2 separate regions of the Homo sapiens genome follow, and region 2 is linked to region 1. The links are contacts of gene promoters, found by promoter capture Hi-C in blood cells and fetal thymus (Javierre and others, 2016). All regions are on one chromosome and are shown on one strand. Each heading gives the region's core, a stretch centred on a gene start or on the middle of the fragment in contact. The rest is flanking DNA. Distances are from core to core; before and after follow the strand shown.

Region 1 (3,866 bases), core at 884-3,383:
TATGTAACAAACCTACACATCCGGCACCTGTATCCTGGAACTTTAAAAAATTAAATTAAATTGGCGCGGTGGCTCACGCCTGTAATCCCAGCACTTTGGGAGGCCAAGGTGGGTGGATCACGAGGTCAGGAATTCGAGACCAGCCGGGCCAACATGGTGAAACCCCATCTCTACTAAAAATACAAAAAAAATTTAGCCAGGCGCAGTGGCAGGCGCCTGTAATCCCAGATACTCAGGAGGCTGAGGCAGGTGAATCGCTTGAACGTGGGAGGTGGAGTTTGCAGTGAGCCGAGATAGCGCCACTGCACTCTAGCCTGGGCAACAGAGTGAGACTCTGTCTCAAAAAAAAAAAAAAAAGAAAGCAAAGAAAGAAAAAAAAATTAAATTAAATTAAAAAAAAAAAGGAAAATCTGTCTGAAAATTCTCACCAGTTACCAACACTTCTTTCTGAGGCTAGGAGGAGAAGGAGGTGGTATGTTAAAGTCAATAATCACACTAACTTTATACATACAAGAAGCTTTCAAAATAGTCATAGTAAAAATGGTACTTTATAAGGAGAAGCTGAAAAAATAGGAAACCAAATGCATATTGGAAATAAATTATACAACTAGGACAATGGAGCAAAATAAGAGATTAAAGCAAAGAATCAGGAACTATCTTGAAAATAAATGATGAGTTCATATAAATAGGAAAAACATTTGTCAACAAGTGGTTTGTGGGAATCTAAAAGGTTTTCATACCTCAGAGCCTGAGTTTTTTTTTTTTTTTTTTGAGACCGAGTTTCACTCTTGTTGCTCAGGCTGGAGTGCAATGGCATGATCTCGGCTCACTGCAACCTCCGCCTCTGGGGTTCAAACGATTCTCCTGCCTCAGCCTCCCGAGTAGCTGGGATTACAGGCATGCGCCACCACCTCTGACTAATTTTTGTATTTTTAGTAGAGACGGGGTTTCTCCCTGTTGGTCAGGCTGGTCTCGAACTCCCGACCTCAGCTGATCCACCAGCCTCGGCCTCCCAAACTGCTGGGATTACAGGCGTGAGCCACCTCTCGCCTGAGAATCTTGATACTGCTGTGTTATTGATTGCTCCACCCCTAAAGAGATGTAGTTATTCATGGGAGAAAATACCTCATAATTTTCCCTGATGATAGCAATTCCATAGAGACACCAAAAGAATCTAAATTATGGCCGGGCGAGGTGGCTCATCCCTGTAATCCCAGCACTTTGGGAGGCCGAGGCGGGCGGATCACGAGGTCAGGAGATCGAGACCATCCTGGCTAACACGGTGCAACCCCGTCTCTACTAAACACACACACACACACACACACACACACACACACACTAGCCGGGCGTGGTGGTGGGCGCCTGTAGTCCCAGCTACTCAGGAGGCTGAGGCAGGAGAATGGCGTGAACCCAGGAGGCTTCAGCCTCCCGAGTAGCTGGGACTACAGGCACGCACCACAACACCCAGCTAATTTTTGTATTTTTAGTAGAGACGGGGTTTCACCATGTTGGCCAGGATGGTCTCCATCTCCTGACCTTGTAATCCACCCGCCTCAGCCTCCCAAAGTGCTGAGATTACAAGCGTGAGCCACCGTGCCTGGCCGCAGTTACTATTTCTTTTGTGATTGATATATATGAATATTGTGCAATGAAATTCCCTCCCAATTGAATTATCTTTCCCTAAAAATAAACCCAAGCTTTCTGGAACATATTGAATTTCCTATTTAACAAGTTTTAAGGATATCTTAGGTGTTTCTGGGATTAGTATTTATTTTCAGGATCTTTTGCATTTACTTGTGAGAAATGGCATTGAGATAAAAATGTGTGGGCTCAAGGTGGTCATGGTTATTTCTACGGAGTCAATTCACAATCTCTAGACCTGTCCGGTGGAAAATAACAGAAATATATGTGCTTAAAATAAAATATACCATGATGCAATGTTGATTGTTCCAAAAATTATAGTTTTTAAAAATTCTTCAAGTTAGCATTTGTACTGTGCTGAAGGCCTTGTTACCAATTGTATTGTAGCGTTTTTTTAATTTCTTTTTTTTTTTTTTTTGAGACAGAGTCTCGCTCTGTCGCCCAGGCTGGAGGGCAATGGTTTGATTTCAGCTCACTGCAACCTCTGCCTCCCAGGTTCAAGCGATTCTCCTGCCTCAGCCTCCCGAGTAGCTGGGACTAGCACGCGCCGCCATGCCCGGCTAATTTTTGTATTATTAGTATTTTGTATTATTAGTAGAGACAGGGTTTCACCATGTTGGCCAGGATGGTCTCCATCTTGGCCTCCCGAAGTGCTGGAATTACAGGTGTGAGCCACTGCACCCGGCCTAAAATTTGTTTCAATGCATCAATAACAATGGTGTTTACTAAAATATTAGTGTGGAAAAGGTTTTATGGTGTATTATTTTTGCTTTTCATATCTCCAGGCTACTTAATTGAAGGTTTTATTGAAATAAGTGTAGACTCACAAGCAGTCATAAGAAATAATACAGAAAAAGCCCTGTCCATATTACCCAGGGTTCCGTCATGATTACATTTTGCAAACTATAGTATAATATCACTCTAATGATATTGACTCTTCTGTGTTCTGTTTTTATATATTTCCCTAGTTTTGCTTGTATTTACTTGTTGCATGTGTGTAAGCCCTGAGTTTTATAGGTTTGATTTGTGGATCTGTTGTGCGGTTGAGCCCTCATTCATTCACCTGCTTCTCTGCAGTTGGACACACAAGCAATTGCCTTTGCACGAACAGGGACAATCTTAATTTCTGTTTAAGATGAGAAAATATGGTTGGAGACACATTAAAACTTCTGTCTCCACTGATGACAAGATACTTCTTTCTGCTTTTTTATTCTACTGATTCTTCAGACCTCAATGAAAATCAACATCCCCTAGATTTTGATGAAATGGCTTTTGGAAAAGTAAAATCAGGGATTAGCTTCCTCATTCAGACTGGAGTTGGGATCCTGGGAAATTCCTTTCTCCTTTGTTTTTATAACTTAATTTTGTTCACTGGACACAAGCTGAGACCCACGGACTTGATTCTCAGCCAACTGGCCTTGGCTAACTCCATGGTCCTTTTCTTTAAAGGGATACCTCAGACAATGGCAGCTTTTGGATTGAAATATTTGCTGAATGACACTGGATGTAAGTTTGTCTTTTATTATCACAGGGTGGGCACAAGAGTTTCCCTCAGCACCATCTGCCTTCTCAATGGATTCCAAGCCATTAAGCTCAACCCCAGTATATGCAGGTGGATGGAGATCAAGATTAGATCCCCAAGGTTTATTGACTTCTGTTGTCTCCTCTGCTGGGCCCCCCATGTCTTGATGAATGCATCTGTTCTTCTATTAGTGAATGGCCCACTGAATAGCAAAAACAGTAGTGCAAAAAACAATTATGGATACTGTTCTTACAAAGCATCAAAGAGATTTAGCTCATTACATGCAGTCTTATATTTTTCCCCTGATTTTATGAGTTTGGGCTTCATGGTCTGGGCCAGTGGCTCCATGGTCTTCTTCCTCTACAGACACAAGCAGCAAGTCCAACACAATCACAGCAACAGACTCTCCTGCAGACCTTCCCAGGAAGCCAGAGCCACACACACCATCATGGTCCTGGTGAGCTCCTTTTTTGTTTTCTATTCAGTCCATAGTTTTCTGACAATTTGGACAACTGTAGTTGCAAACCCAGGCCAGTGGATAGTGACCAACTCTGTGTTGGTCGCCTCATGTTTCCCAGCACGCAGCCCTTTTGTCCTCATCATGAGTGATACTCATATCTCTCAGTTCTGTTTTGCCTGCAGGACAAGGAAAACACTCTTTCCTAATCTGGTTGTCATGCCATGAGTCTTTTCTCTTCATGGA
Region 2 (3,866 bases), core at 393-2,892, about 20 Mb after region 1:
ATATATGACTTGGTTGCCTTTTGGGATGTGGGAAAGGTTTGGTGGGAGTTGTTATATTTATCTGTAATATTTCTTTAATAAAAGAGTGAAAGCAAATATGACAGTGGTGACAAATCTGGTTGTCCAAATTAATTATATGGGTTTTTAAAATTGTTTTTTCTTGCTTTTATTTTCCTAATTTCTCAAAAATAAGAATCAAATGGGTGGGGGAAACCTGGGCCTGGAGAAATAATTTTAAAATGGATTTTTATTCTTGATCAGATACTAACATTTATAGAAGATTGTCTTTACACAAAACATACCTGACAAGGTATTATTTTGTTTACTGTCTCTTCATGTTAATTGGAATAATAAAATCAGCAGTATTTTCGCATTTATTTGAGGCCAATTTTTAATTTTAAACTCAAATTTTTTTCTAGTTGAGTATAGAAACAAAACAATTATTTTATTATTGGGATAATTGGCTATCCATTTGGGGAAAGAAATCCACCTTCATTTGGGTTGGTTTTGGAGTGAAGGAAAGAGACCATTCATGCATACTGTAAAATATAGTTTACATTCTAATATATCAAGCCAAGAATAGTTATTGGTGTTAGAGTAGAAGCAATTTCTATATATCTCAACAAAGCTTTTCTTTGTTTCTGGATCAATAAATGGGGATGCAGATGCTGGTGATTTTATGTATGCCAGGTAAGGGCCCAGTGGATGTGAAAAATTCACTTCATTCTGTTCCACAGATGTTTTATATTCAGGCCTTTCAAATATTTATGTCGTGGCCAGGTGCAGTGGTGGCTCACACCTGTAATCCCAGCACTTTGGGAGGCTGAGGCAGGTGGATCACTTGAGGTCAGGAGTTTGTGAGCAGCCTGGCCAACATGGTGTAACCCCGTCTCAACTAAAAATACAAAAATTAGCTGGGTGTGGTTGTGTGTGCCTCTTATCCCAGCTACTTGGGAGGCTGAAGCACGAGAATTGCTTGAACCCAGGAGGCAGAGGTTGCAGTGAGCTGAGATCACGCCACTGCATTCCAGCCTGGGCAACAGAGTGAGACTCCATCTCAAAAAACAAACAAAAAAACAAATATGTTGCCTCCAATTTCATTTTCTGTGAATAGTCTATTCATATATTAAGTCTGTTTTTTTCTACTGGAACTTCAAAAATGTTTTTCTTGGAAACAATTATGGATTTATAGGAAGTTATACAGATAATGCTGTATAGTACTATTTAGTCCTTGTACCCCACACCTCGTTTCTCCTAATGGTAACACCTTATATAACAGTACAGAATCAAATTTGACATTGGTACAATCCACAAACATTACCAGTTTTATAGGCACTTGTGTATGTGTCTGTACAGTTCTATACAGTTTTATCTCATGCACAGATTAGTGTAACTGCCACTCCCCATAGTCAATCTATAAAACTGACAGCACCACAAAGGTCCCTTGTTCTATCCATTTATAGTCACACCCATCTTCCTGTCCTCCTCACTCCCCATCCCTAACCCCTGGCAATTACTAGTCTATTCTCTATCTCTATAGTTTTTTCATAATGGATTTTTTTCTTTTTTGTGTGTGTTACAATATATTCTGGACACAAATCCTTTGTCAGTTACTTGCATTCTAAAAATAGTTTTGTTTTCAGTTTATTGCAGACACAAAAATTTTAAAGCTGAATGTGAAAATTAGTCTATGATACATTTTGAGTTAACTTTTTATAAGGAATAAAATTTAGGTCAAGGTTCATTTTTTGGATGTCTACTTGTTACAGTGCTATTTGTTGAAAAAAAATATTGTTTCTCCATTGAATTGCTTGGCCTACTTCTGTGTTTCTGAATGCTCTTTTCCAAAAATCTATGCATCTATCCCTCTATCAATGCCACACTGTCTTGATTACTATAGCTGTATACTGATTGCTCTCATTTTTTTACTTTTTCTTTTTCTTTTTTTTTTTTGAGGCAGGGTCTCACTCCTGTCACCCAGGCTGGAGTGCAATGGTTCTAGTCATAGCTCACTGCAGAATCAGATGATTCTCCAAGCCAAGTAGCTGAGACTAGACGTGTGTGTCAGCACACTCAGCTAATTTTTGTATTTTGAGTAGAGATGGTTTTGCCATGTTGCCCAGGCTGGTCTCAAACTCTTGAGTTCAAGGAATCCTCTGGCCTTGGTCTCCCAAAATGCTGGAATTACAGGCGTGAGCCACCACACCTGACCTATTATTCATTTTCAAAATTTATTTATCTATTCCACTTTCTTTGCTCTTCCATATAAATTTTGGATCAGCCTGTCTGTGTTTTCAAAAGCCCTGCTTAAATTTTCATAGAAATTGCATTAAGCCTTTATTTCATTGTGGAAGAATGGAAGTCTTTACTATACTAAGCCTTCCACTCCATAAACACAGTATGTGTCTTATGTAGGTCTTCTTTGAGTTCATCAGTTTTAATCATTGTTTTGTAATTTTTAGCTCCGGTAAATGTATTAGATTTAAACTTAACTGCTTCACTGGATGTGTGTGTGTGATATTCTTGTTTGTAAATTCCTTTAGATTTTCTATGTAGAAATAATATCATCTGCAAATGGGGCCAGTTATGTTTTGTTCTTTCCAATCTATATGCTTGCTTTTTACTTTTCTGGCCTTATAAATTGTCAGTAAGCTTCTGGAATGGGATTTTAAAGCTGACTTCTGGGAGAAAATCAGTTAAGCAATCTTCAAAGACCAAAACATAAGAGTCAATGAAAACATAAAAGGGGGCAAGGATTGAAAAAGTAACCAGTGGGTATCGTGCTCAGTACGTGGGTGGCAGGGTCATTTATACCCCAGACCTCAGCATCACACAATATACCCAGGTAACCTGCACATGTACCCCCAACTCTAAAAATTTTTAAAAAAGAGATGATATTTAAAGGAGAAATGGGATTGCCCTATACTAGAGTAACAGTCACTTGTACAGATAGAATTCCATTGTTTTTATCCCTAACGTGGCCTGAGTTTCAAAGAACCTAATTGAGATAGGTAATCTGGGTGGAGCTTTGCTCCCATCAGTCAACAGCAGGAAGGATCAGTTGTGAATACTGTGGGATCTAACCAGAGATTCCTTCCTGGAATCCCAGTTGAAAAAACAGCGACCAGGTAATTAAGGTCTCTATCAGTTCTCAAACTCCCGACCTCAAGTGATTAACCCGCCTTCGCCCTCCCAAAGTGCTGGGATTACAGGCATGAGCTACCGGCCTGGCAGGGTCTCTATCAGTTCTAACCATTTTCTCTTGAGCCATGTACACGAATCCAAGAAAGTGCCTTTCTCATGTGTAAGCTCCACAACACAGTTAATAAGGGTACTACATGGGTACACATGGACATAAAGATGGGAACAATAGACAATGGGGACTACTGGGGGGAGGGATGGAGTGGGGTAAGGGCTAAAAAACTACCTAGTGGGTACCATGCTCACCATCTGGGTGACAGGATCATTTGTACCCCAAACCTCAGTATCATGCAATATATCCATGTAACAAACCTGTACATGTACTCCCTGAATCTAAAATAAAAGTTAAAAAAAATTTTAAGGTACAACAGCGAAGATCAAAACTGATTCCTGAAGTCAGCCTTGTGATTTTTGCAGGTGTGGCCCACTGTATGTGCAGGGAAACAGGAATCAAAGCAGCAGTAGGGGGTGAAGTGGGAATCCATTTTAGGTCTAATCTATGGTATGAAAAGAACACAGGTAATTTTAATAAAATTCTGACAGTAGAATAGGGTGGTAGAATATATGTTCTTTATAAAATTAAATGAGTCCCAGCGCGGTGGCTCACACTCGTATTCCCAGCACTTTGAAAGGCCAAGGTGGGAAGATTGCTTGAGCTCAGGAGT

The links. Contacts are between HindIII fragments. The CHiCAGO score rates a contact against its expected background, and 5 or more counts as called.
Region 2: a contact is called between a fragment that was not itself captured here and the fragment with the promoter of VN1R1 in region 1, in 2 of 17 cell types (non-activated CD4 T cells and naive CD8 T cells). The highest score is 8.0, in non-activated CD4 T cells.

What each region holds. Positions count from the first base shown.
Region 1 is chr19:57,455,407-57,459,272 of GRCh38, reverse strand. It overlaps VN1R1 (vomeronasal 1 receptor 1), which reads left to right and starts at 2,133. Exons shown (of 1, transcript NM_020633.4): 1 at 2,133-3,866. The coding sequence starts at 2,787. The coding sequence ends at 3,848. The HindIII fragment of the contact is 5,648 bases long and covers 1,700-3,866 here.
Region 2 is chr19:37,407,387-37,411,252 of GRCh38, reverse strand. ZNF569 (zinc finger protein 569) reads left to right here. Exons shown (of 6, transcript NM_152484.3): 6 at 1-96. Among named protein-coding and RNA genes, the nearest start is that of ZNF527, 38 kb to the right of the region's middle. The HindIII fragment of the contact is 2,024 bases long and covers 631-2,654 here.